Regions from separate parts of the Homo sapiens genome. Here regions 1 and 3 are each linked to region 2. The links are contacts of gene promoters, found by promoter capture Hi-C in blood cells and fetal thymus (Javierre and others, 2016). All regions are on one chromosome and are shown on one strand. Each heading gives the region's core, a stretch centred on a gene start or on the middle of the fragment in contact. The rest is flanking DNA. Distances are from core to core; before and after follow the strand shown. Region 1 overlaps CSGALNACT1 (chondroitin sulfate N-acetylgalactosaminyltransferase 1). Region 2 holds the start of CSGALNACT1 (chondroitin sulfate N-acetylgalactosaminyltransferase 1). Region 3 overlaps CSGALNACT1 (chondroitin sulfate N-acetylgalactosaminyltransferase 1).

Region 1 (4,694 bases), core at 1,454-3,953, 230 kb before region 2:
GCTGAGGACGGAAAATCGCTTGAACCTGCGAGGCAGAGGTTAAAGTGAGCTGAGATCGTGCCACTGCACTCTAGCCTGGGTGACAAAGTGAGACTCCATGTCAAAAAAATAAAGGATAAAAGAGGCTTTCTGGTAGAAGTAACTGAGTGGCATAGGCTTGGAAGCGACATTACGCATGAGAACCACGCAGGCAGGTCAGCATAGCTGGAGTGTGGGGTGCTGAGCTGAAGTAGCAGGGTCAGGCTGTAGAAAACCAAAAATATCAAATTTGGGGAGGAGATTATGAGTGTGGGCTTAGACAAGTTAAGCTCAAGTGCCTCTGAAGCATCCAGGCGGAGATGGTGACTAAGCAAGTCAGAGAAAAGAAGAGCTGTACGCCAGAGAGGTAGATTCAGGGCCACTGGCATATTGATAGGAATCAAACCGTAAGACTGAAGGAGATAAACTCAGGGAGAAAATCGAGTGGGAAGAAAAGGTGGTGCTGAGTCTATAGGAACTCCAACATCAAACAGCCAGGAAGAGGAAATAAGCCTGCAAAGCAGCTGGAGAAGGAACTTCTGGAGATGACCCACATTGTTATGAACTTGGGGGCTGAGGCTCTGCCTGAGTAGGTTTGACACAGGGCTATCCAGAACTGACTGAGGTAGCCTGGCTAATTCTGTAGCCCATTTTTGCCACGTATCCCGGTCATGTTCTCCAAATTAGCCAATATTTGTGTCTCCATCTGCCCGAACACCATTTTCCGACTCGTTCAGGACTGAGAAAGAAAAAGAAAAAAAAAAAGCAAGCAGCCCTTGATATTCAGAAGCTTGCCTGACAGTCACGGCAAGGTCATGTTATTCCGCTATTAGACATAAACCATCTCAAAGAAAACCAGCCTCACACAAGTGATAAAGAGAGACAAAACAAGGCCACTCCATAATTTTGTCTAAACACAGACAAAAACAAGGTCAACATGTCACCCGCAAAATACCAAACACCCCCTTTTCTTGGCCAAAGTGACTGCCTCTTTACTAATTACAACTTTATCCTCATTCTAGACCCCCATAGTAAGATTTACTGAGATACCTTATGTGAGAATTACTCTTTCTGAGGAGATCCAATCTAGAGCAAATCTCTCCTTCCTTAAACCCACCCCCAAATCATCCAACCAAGACCCAAATCTGTATGATGGGTTCTCCCTCAACACCCTCTTACTAGGATACCTCACGACTTCCCATGGTATGCATTCTCCTTTGCAGCAACAAATAATAAACCCAGCGTGTCCAACTACAGAGTGTGCCTAACAGTCTTTGGCTGGAGGGAACTGACAGAACTCAGATGTAGAAAATAAAGATATCAAACCCCTAGATACCCCAAACGCTAAGGCTAGGATGGTAGTTCTCTCTTGAGATGGAAGAAGTGGGATGTGACTGGGGAAGGGCACACAGCCTTCAGAAGGTCTATGAGTAATGGTTGTTAATGTTAAGATTTTATTTATTAAACCAAATGGCGAGTAGATGGGGCTGTCATTCACAAAATTTTGAAGTCTCAAAATTTGAATATACCTTTAAAAAGAAGGATTCAGTGGACAGCAACGTCAGATGCTGCCGAGAAATCAAGTAAGCTGAGAACTGCAACAAAGCTCGGTGAGTTGAGCAACGTGGGGGTCAACGGTAACTTAAAAGCTTTTTTGGTGAGTTGTTGAGTGCGAAAGAAGAGTGAATTAAAGACAGAGTGGGAAGGAAATGGAGACAATGAATATGCAGAAATTTTTCCAGAAGTTTAACTGCATAGCAGAAGAGTGAGAGTGAGTGAGCAGTAGTTGGAAGGGTGTGTATCAGGGAGAAGACCAGGGCATTTGTGCAACTGACCAGACCTGTGGGCCTTGACCACTACTGGGCATCAGCTCTTCCTCCTGGCTCCTGGAATCCTACTCAAGGCTGGTGGCAAACAAGTAGGAGCTAAATCAAGAAGAAGCTCTTATCTCCTGTTTCACTTGACTTTGACGTTTGGGCTCTTAATAACATTTCATTCATCATTACTGCAACCCTTTCCCCATTACTAATAAATATCAGGAATAGTTATCAAATACGTATCAATATCAAAATAGCAGTGAATGAAAAAGTGGTAAGGGAAAATGTGTCTATTCATTAAAACTTCAAATACACACACACATACACCCACACACACAGAGTTGTCGCTTGGTATCCATGAGGGACAGATTCCAGGACTCCTCCATGGATACTAAAATCCATGTATGCACAGCTCCCTTATGCAAAATGGTGCAGTACTTGTGTATAACCTAAGCACATCCTCCTGTATACTTTAAATCATCTCTACATTATTTATAATAACCTAACACAATGTGATGCTATGTAAATAGCTATTGTACTATTATTTGTATAATTTTTACAATTATTTCTCATATTTTATTTTTTAAAATAGTCTCAGCCCAACACAGTGGCTCACGCCTGTAATCCTAGCACTTAGGAAGGCTGAGGTGAGCTCTTGCCTGAGCTCAGGAGTTGGAGTCCAGCCTGGTCAACATGATGAAACTCTGTCTCTACTAAAAATACAAAATAATTAGCCAGGCATAGTGGTGCGTGCCTGTAATCCCAGCTACTCGGGGGCTGAGGCATGAAAATTGCATGAACCCAGGAGGCAGAGGTTGCAGTGAGCCAAGATCACGCCACTGCACTCCAGCCTGGGCAACAGAGCGAGACTCTGGCTGAAAAAACAAAACAAAACAAAACAAAACAAAACAAAAAAAATTCAATCCATGGTTGGTTGAATCCATTCAATATCCATGAATGTGTACACATACACACACACACACACACACACACACACGCACACAAGTACTGACTGTACATGAGTGTGTATGTGTATATATGTAAGTGTATATATAATTTTATAATATCTATAACTCTTTGCTTCATTAACATAGATGAGTAACAGATTTTGCATTTATGACTTAGTCTCTACATTTATGCATTATAATCATGACATGTAAACTTTACTAGAATTCAGTCGCTAAACTCTTACTTCTAAAAAAATGTAAAACCGATAGCACAGCAGAAAAAAGTAAATTGTTCACCGGGCACAGTGGCTCGCAGCTCGAGTCCCAGTTATTCAAGTGGCTGAGGCTGGAGGATCGCTTGAACCCAAGAGATCGGGGCTATAGCGAGCTATGATTGTGCCACTGCCCTTCAGCCTGGACAACAGAGCAAGACCTTATCTCATAAAGGAATAGAAAAGGAAAAAGTTGATTGTCCATGAAGTTAGTAAGACTATTTACCTGAAGTCACAGACTTTCTAATGAGAAAGGGACTGGTGAGGAAAAAAGAGTCACACGAAATGAGCAACAGAAGTTTTGTTCAACACAAATATTTCCCTGCAATCTGGAGTGTGTGGAGTTACTGCCTCTAGCCCCACTGCCTTGAACCTACAGGGGGTTCTCTGCCACTCCCCACAGAAACTGTCATCAGTCAATCAGTATCAGCTGATCTTCAAGCCTGACACTTCAAGTGTGAATACCTAAGAATCTGAACCCGTGGTTTCTTGCTAAGGCTTCCATTTCCTATTACATGAAAACATCTTGATGATTAAAAGAAAAATTAAAACCTTAGACTAATTCCAGGGAGCTTGAAACTCTTCAGAGATAGAGCTATTTTCTAAATCCTCATGACATTCCACCAAGGGAGGCAGATATCTATCATCTTTATTTTAGAGTTGGAAACATTGAAACCCCAAAAGCACAAGCTTCTTAAAAAGAATGTAACATAATCAGTCTGCCAGAATTTTCACTCATAGCTCCACATAATTTAAAAAGTCAATGTAAGTCAAATGGGATGGACGTTAATATTGCCATTCCCATGAGACATATTCTGGACTGCTAAAGAAATTGCAGGGCAGGAGGCAGAACACCCAGCTCAGTCCTAGCTGGAGCCACAGCTTTGAGTGGATCACTTCATTTATTTAAGTTCCCTTATTTACAAAATACTATCAAAATTTACAATGCAATGGCATCTCCAAGTCCTGTTTCTAACACCACCGCTTACCAACTAAGTAACCTTGGCAAATCACTAAAGTTCTCTGGGTCTCAGCTTCTCAGGTGCAAGGAAAATTGACATAGAATCTCATGACTTCAAGGCAGGAGCCCTCAACACCTCACCTCTTCAGAGTATAGCCAAGGTGAAATTTTTTTATCAACTGTGACTTCGGTGGAACAAAAGAACTTTGTTGTTTGCAAGCAAATTCAACTTGGCTTTCACGTCCCCAGTCTGCAGGGAGCACACCACCCATCATAGCCTGTTCTGCTCTACTCACTGTGATCCAGTGGTTCCTTTTGGCCAGATGCAGGTACTGCCCAGTCCAAAGCTCAATGTCTTTCCAGCAGATGGGGCCTCTGGGTTTCTCCTGCCTGCCCCTTCCCTTTTCCCTGGATGCTTGGGCTTCTGGAAGGGAAAAGAGGAGCCTGGCCCTTCTGAATCTCTCTACTTCCTGCCTGCTGGTTGAGTTTTTCTTTCCTATTCTAAGGAAAATAGTCCTGACATCATATCCTGCATGAATGCCATGGTGTACTGTAAATTCTAGGCTCTGTTGGTCTTGGCTGGTAGGAGAGCACAGAGCCTTCGTCGCTGTTTCTTTCTGTCTCTCAACAAGTTTAGCTTTTGGAAATTAAAAAAAAAAAACATGTTTGTTTGCACATT
Region 2 (2,700 bases), core at 201-2,700:
TATTTTGATATTGTATTATGTGGAGTACATATGGTGTGGCAGCTCAAGGCAGACGAATTATTAAATATGTACGGTGATCTTACAATGGGTATGGCCCGTCTCTTGCTTTCTAGGAATTGACCATCTTCCGGCAGCCCAACACCTAGTCCCCTGTGTATTATGCACTATTACAAAACGTGTTCAAGTCGCCTTTTATGCCTAAGGCTTACATAAAAATTCATCTTGCCTTTCTGCGTCTATTTCCAAGTTTGAAGGACCTTTCTCCCTCCAATTAGCAACATTTCAGCACTGCACAGGGCTTATTAATGCTCACTGTTGCAAGTAACACCAAGGTAATTTGACTTTCTTGTAGGAACAATGTCGACGAAATCCTACAGAATTAAATTTAAATTTCCAGTTTAAAAAAAAAAACCGTGAAAGAACACTTCATTACCTTTATTATCTAGACGTATCTAATGACGTTAAGTAAAAACTGCACCAAGGCTTTGAAACCAGAAGAAAAGTGGAGTTTGTGAAATTTAACCACTCCATGCTTTTTATTAGTATTTCACTTATGAGTATTTCCCGAGGCTCACTGTTTTGGCAGGCACAGTGCTGTTAACATCTCTTCCTTTCTCACCATTCTTTGCTCATCGATGAAAAGATAACTTCAAAATCTCTGACAGGAATGCAGGTGCAGGAAGTGCGACGGAAACAAACAACTTTGCCTCCGCTTCCTACAGCTTTCCTCTCCTCCCCGCCCTTCTAGCCCCCATCCCACCCCAAGATCATGCCCTCGAACAGCTTCTGCCCACCGATCGCACGTCCCCTGGGCATGTTCGGGCAGCGGTGACCCTCAGCCACATCCCCCACTAGCCCGGTCCCGGGCAGGCGAGCGCGCTGCCCACCGGCCACCCTCGTCACGCCCCCTCCACCCTCTCCATCCCAGCCACAATAATACAATAACCGCAGTCATCGCGCGGCACGTGGAAAGGCTACTTTTCAGTGGGTTTTGCAGAAAGCAATCAGACAGCGGAAGGCCACGAGAAACGCTGGTGAAGCCAAACCGACCCCGGGAGCGCAGCGGCCCCGGACCCTCCCTGGAAGCTCCCTCCGCGTCCCCGCGCGCCCACCTGGAGGCGCCGCGCCCTCCGCCTGCCAAGCCGGTCCCCGGCCCCTGCCCGTGCCCTGGGCCCCCGGCGGGCAGCGGCGGAGGGAGGCCAGGCGCGGCACCGTCCTCCGCAGCTGCACGAGCCACCCCGAGGTCGCGGGGTGGGCGGGCGCGAGCTAGGCGCGCGGGGCTGTGGGGATCTGCCGGCGCCACTGACGCCCCCGCGCGGCACACCGCGCCCGGCTGGCCCGGGAGGGGACCCGACTCACCCGAAGCGCCCTGCTAGCTGCCCGGCCCGGCTCCGGCCGCTGCCGCCGTCGCTGAACTTTCCCTCCTGCGCGGCCGCCGCGGACTCGGCTCCACCTCCCGCTCCGGCAGCCGCGGAGCCTCCAGGGACCCCGGGGGCGGGGAGCAGCGGCGGCGGCGGCGGCTCGGGCGGGCGGGCGCAACAGCGGCCAAGCCTGGCGCCCCGCCGCAGGGTAGGTCCGGCGGGGGCGGCCAAGGCCGGGCTGGGGTCGCGGTTGGCCGCGTACCTCCGCGTCACCCACGGCCTCTCTGCAGTGCGTCCCTGCGCCCGTCGGAGCGGCGCCCTGGCCGAAGCCTGTCACTCTCGGAAGGGGCCGCGCTCGGACACCAGGGGCGGTTTACGCGTGACTGGACACCAAGAGCCGGAGAAGTTTAGAGACTAGGACACTGTGGCGTGGCCCGAGTTGCAGGAGAGAGGTGTCCAATCTCCATGGGGTCCTTACTCTTGCAGGACAGAGTTCCCCATCCCCCTGCTCCACCCGCTCTGTTCCCTTGGCTGCCCTCCCCGCCGAGCGCCGACTTCCATGCAAAAACTTTGTAAATCGCACTTCGGGGAATTCACGCTTTAGTCGCGGTCTCTGCTGCCCTGGTCAGCTATAACGCCTCCCCTAGAGAGCTTTTACTTACAGCGAAGGTCAGGAACCCCTGTAACTCTCACACCGCACCACTGTGGGTAAGCGATGTCTGCAGGGACCCCTGACGGCCACTGGGAGGCCAGGAGAGAAGAGGGAGAGGAAAGGCTAAAAAGGCAAGTGGAGTGTTGGGTAATAAAAGATCCACCGCCACCTCCAGCACACACAGGCAGGCACCCTCCAGGGCCACAGGTCGCCTTTTATCTGTAAGTGCTCCAGCGCATCTCTGTGGGAGAGGGAGTTGGGAAATAGGATCGCCAATTTTCAGTGTAATTGAGGGGGACTCAGGAGGAGTCAGTTAGACTGGAAGAGGTCATCACCTGCAGATGCGGTTAAGCAACTTGCAGAGGCCCCAGGGCTGAGCCACCGCAGAACCGGAGCTGGAAACCAGTCCTATGACTCCTGAGGCAGTGCTCTTTCTACTACCTGGCCATGGCTCCTTCTACTGCCTGGCTCAGAGTCTCCATCTGGGAGATTCCGGCGCACCAGACTTTATTGTGGGCACAGGGTAGGCAGTCCTGAGGCTATAGGCACAGTCTTGAAGCAGCTCGGTTTCCATTAAGCTCCTGCTTACCTGCAGGAAGCATCCCTGAAGCAAGTTTTGCTTCCCACCTGGACTCCCCAGGTGGACCTATCCCCACCCCACACCCTGAGTGAACTCTTCACCCTCGT
Region 3 (4,645 bases), core at 1,213-3,712, 210 kb before region 2:
GAGCAGACAGCTGGAATATGTGCCACCACCACTGAGACCACAGTTTTCTTTCTCTAATCCAATCTTAAGGAAATATAATTTAATAGAACTAATCTCTACTATTTAAAAATATCTATGTAGTTTAAAAGACATTGGGAACAAATCAATGAATAACTTTTATTATTGAAATACTGAACATACTAAACATGAAACTTAGATGTTTAAGAGTATGACATTTTTATTTTTTTCTCCAATGCTGAAGGAAAAAGCTAACAATTTCGTGTGTTTTCTTTAACTACTTGAAAAGTCCATTAAATGAAACCAAAGATAACTCCGAACAGATATCCACCTGATTGAATGACCCTTTTGCTTTTTAACCTCTCTGGTGTTCAGAATTCTGGAGAGGATTTGAAACTGCCTTATCCAAATATTTTGTTATAATTCTTAAAGTAATGTGGAACAGGGCCCCATACCTATGCTGAGCTTAGCTATGCTAAATTCCAGGGGTGAATTAATAAACCTCTAGTAGCTGTAAGTTTAAATGATTCTTTTGTACAGTTTTAACTGCATAATTGGTCCAATTTTCATTTATCTTGCTGGAAAAATACAGACATCATCATTCTCCAAGTAAAAGCTGTGTATCTGAGATATAAAAAAAGTTCCCCAAGAAGACAACAAAGGAAGAGGCTATCGTTTACACACAGGACACCAGAAGTTCCTTTCCTTTCAAAAAGGAGAAGTTTTCAAAGAAAAAATGGGAACCAGGGGAGAAGCCAGTCAGTCCATCCTTTCAGACATTTTTTTTTTTTCCAATAACTTAGCTCCAAAGACCAGGATAAATCACGACGACACAGCGACTCCTGGGAGTTGTTCTGAAGCACAGTGAAGTCACTCCATGTCACCCTGGAAGCTAGAAAATATATTTTCCTCCAATAAAACTGTTAAAATCCTATCTCTGGACTTGACCCAGTCTTGCCTGTCACCAGGGAGGCCTGTTCATAGCAGTTAGGTGGCTGCCATACTTGGTATCTCCTACTGTAGTGAAATGAGGATGTCCTTGTGGTTGAGCAGAAATGAGATGAATGAAATCCCAGAAAAATCATTATTTTTCTATAAAACAATTAACGTTTAATTGAACATTTAAATTCATAGATAACCCTTTCACGAAAAATGAGATGGGGAAAATTTTCCTGCAGACTTATCTTGGCAAAGCCACCTCATGCCTATAACTTTTGTCTTTGATAATAACTGATGTAGAAAAAGCATAAAACATGATCATTGATTTCTGTCAGATGAAAAAGCAGATGGCAAGTGTCCTGATAGCAAAGACTCTGTCTTACATTTTTATTCCTCCTCAATGCCTAGTATGGTGTTTCAAACATAATATGCATTCAATAAATGTCTCTGGGTCAATGAATGAGTATGCTAAAAAGATAAAGTAGTAAAACAATAAGGGAGAAAAAACGTAAGGAAATGGTTAATGCGAAACTATAACTTTTCCTCCCAAGTCTCCAGGCAACTAAAGTTAGATGACGTTAATGAGACCTGCTGAGAAAAGGATATATATATATATTTGTAAACACACACATTATATATCTATATATATTAATATATGTATACATATATTATGTATATATAATAGTTATATACTATATATTATATATAAGTTATATGCTATATGTGTATACATATATAAGTTTATTTTTCTAAAACAGCAAAACAATGCACAAAAAATAAAATAAAGCTCACAATTTGCAAACTGCATGTATAGTTATAGTGTGTGATTCCTCCACAGATAGCCCAAGAAAATTTAGGTCATACAGTTGTCATACCATTAGATCAAATTTTAATAGTCCTTTTCACTTAAAACAAGAAGGAAGTTTTATAAGGAAACAAGACTCAATATATTTTACACAGTCAATTCAATAGCACAAATAGATATATGCAGATAAATTCAGCAGAATATATTTTTAGTATGCTTTGCCCAATTTCCATATTCACTGATATTTATCTGTCAAGTATATAAATACATAAAACATGATTAATCGTGTTTTTGTAAGTAAGTTGAACATGGCTTTCATATATGCCTAGAGGGCTGTGCTTCAATATTACGGCTTTTATTTTCCCTTCTCCAAAATGGCAACACAATACCCATCTGTCAATCTTATTCCTACTATAATCATCAAGTGGTAATTAACCTCTCTGGAATATTAAGGACTTTGTGGTCATGGACCTCAATAGAACATTGAAATAACTATGCCTCACTACTCTTCAATGAAATAGGGAAGTATCACTAAGAATTAAGGATGGAACACAAAGCTAACTACAAGTTTCTTAAACAAATGTGGCATCAAATTATTTAGAAAATAAATACTTGGAATACCATCTGATGCTGCACAGCCACATCCACTCTCCCAAGTCAGTATTCTCATGAATATTGTTTCTTCCCCCTACCCATTCTTGGGAATATCTGAAATGTACAATAAATATTCTTGTTGCTACTAGCACAGAAATGTAATAAACAAAAACCTATATGAAACCCCTCCAAACTCAGATGAAACCTAAAAAGCAAACACAGGTGACTAGGAAGGCTCCTCTTTACAGAGTTTGAATCTAGACCAAGCTCAGATCCTGCCACCACAACTGAGGTCCCCGGATCAGTGTCACATAAGGTTCAGGGTGCAGAATGATCCTATGGCTTCACAATATCTCTTCACTGTCAAGATGCTCTTCGCAGAGGGAGCTGAGAGTAGCTGAATCATCCATCAGATGCGTCTTCTCTAGAAATACCTGACAGTGATTTTCCAGAAACACCGTCTGAGAACTTACCAGTGTCTCACAGTAGACTCTCCTGGGTTTTCTATACCCAAGAATATAACAAATATAAAGTGATATCCTCAGTCTTTCCAGCAAGAAAAAAAGGCCAGGACACGAAGGGCTCCATGATGCCACAGGACAAAGCAAAAATGCCAGCAGTGTTTTGTTAAAAGTCTGCTCCTCCTTTGCTGGTATTTTTGAGGTGTAATATAACACACAGCCAAGTAAGTGACAAGTAAAAGCTCTAACTGGTCATCTATGGTCCAAGTCTGATAACTAACTGGAATCAGAATGCATTTCAGTGTTTTGTGAATGACATGGCTTGGCTGTGTCCTCACTCAATTCTCATCTTGAATTGTAGGTCCCTTAATTCCCATGTTTTGTGGGAGAGACCCAGTGGGAGATAACTGAATCATGGGGGTGGTTTCCCCATACTGTTCTCATGGTAATGAATAAGTCTCACGAGATCTAGTGGTTTTGTAAGGGGTTTCCCCCTTCGCTTGGCTCTCGTTTCTTTGCACTTGCCTGTCACCATGTAAGACGTGCCTTTAGCTTTTCACCATGATTGTGAGGCCTCCCAGCCATGTGGAACTGTGAGTCCACTAAATCTCTTTCTTTACAAATTACCCAGTCTCGGGTATATCTTTATTAGTAGTGTGAGAACAGACTAATACCGTAGAATACAATAAAGTATACTCTAGAAACTTTCACTTATATCAAGTATAATAGTTAAAAACTTGGAAAAAGGGAGATGGATCACTGATTTGTACAATAAATTCCTTACTAGCAAGTAATACTGAGAAGTGAAAGAAAGAGTAACATTTACATAAAAGGTGATGAGGACCAGATGGCCACTGCCAGACCCTGAGGGATTTGGGTGTGTTGCCAGGGGGTTGGTAGTTATTGATGGGAAAGAGGAGAGAGCAGCTGCCATTTTCCTAAGTTCCCACCATATTCCCGGCATTGTATTAAGTGATTCATACGAGTGATGTAACATCGCTCACATTAACTCTGTGAGGTTGAAAGTCTGGAAATGTCCAAAGCTGGAAGTAGACTATTATTGGATTAAGTATTAAATGTTTCAACTAAATATTGAATTTGGATTATATTTCAGCCAAACACTAATTATTAAAGAGAGGAGAGGCAACTTGCCCATTTCAGTCCAACTGGAATTTTCCTCAAGGATAGCAAATCTGAATTCTAATGATTCTGGCACTTTTTTCTAATGCTTAATATTGAAAATAAAGTTAGACACTAAAATTGCTTAATATTAAAAATTAAGTTAGACAGTAAGTGTGAATAATAAAGCTCTGACAAATTCCAATATCAAATATCAAACCAACCATGACTCTAAACTCATGATTCATATGAGACTAAAAAATAGATTATTTTTCAATATATTCCAAAAACTCACTGCTGTTTTTCTCAAGTATTATTTTTAAAAAATATTTTGTGAAATGCATTATTCACATGAAACTAAACAATAGATTACTTTTCAATATATTCCAAAAACTCACTGCTGTTAGTTTTTCTCAAATATTATTTTTAAAACATTTTGTGAAATATGTTAAAATTTTACATGTGTAAATATACTTTTATATACATGGATTTATTTTAACTTTTATCAAGCACATGATTTTAAAATCAAATGGTACTATAAGACTGACAATTAAAAATAGCAGCCTTTTGCCCTCTCCAACTTCCCTGAGTCCAAATGATCAAAAGACACTTTCAACTCTTTTAGCTGTTTTCTTTAGTATTTATCTTCATATTTTAGGTAACGTTCTTCAACTGCCATGCTTATCCCTTTATTTGAGAGAGGTCCTTGCCCTTTTGCCCTTCTACAGTA

Evidence for each region. Contacts are between HindIII fragments. The CHiCAGO score rates a contact against its expected background, and 5 or more counts as called.
Region 1: a fragment that was not itself captured here is called in contact with the fragment with the promoter of CSGALNACT1 in region 2 in 7 of 17 cell types (neutrophils, non-activated CD4 T cells, naive CD8 T cells and 4 more); the score reaches 12.7 in neutrophils.
Region 3: a fragment that was not itself captured here is called in contact with the fragment with the promoter of CSGALNACT1 in region 2 in 2 of 17 cell types (neutrophils and naive CD8 T cells); the score reaches 16.1 in neutrophils.

Annotation. Positions count from the first base shown.
Region 1 is chr8:19,527,508-19,532,201 of GRCh38, forward strand. The region is part of intron 2 of CSGALNACT1 (chondroitin sulfate N-acetylgalactosaminyltransferase 1); the gene reads right to left. Among named protein-coding and RNA genes, the nearest start is that of CSGALNACT1-AS1, 150 kb to the right of the region's middle. The HindIII fragment of the contact is 2,077 bases long and covers 1,666-3,742 here.
Region 2 is chr8:19,755,827-19,758,526 of GRCh38, forward strand. It overlaps CSGALNACT1 (chondroitin sulfate N-acetylgalactosaminyltransferase 1), which reads right to left and starts at 1,451. Exons shown (of 9, transcript NM_001354483.2): 1 at 1,360-1,451. The HindIII fragment of the contact is 8,664 bases long and covers 1-2,700 here.
Region 3 is chr8:19,544,228-19,548,872 of GRCh38, forward strand. All of the region lies in intron 2 of CSGALNACT1 (chondroitin sulfate N-acetylgalactosaminyltransferase 1), which reads right to left. Among named protein-coding and RNA genes, the nearest start is that of CSGALNACT1-AS1, 130 kb to the right of the region's middle. The HindIII fragment of the contact is 9,869 bases long and covers 1-4,645 here.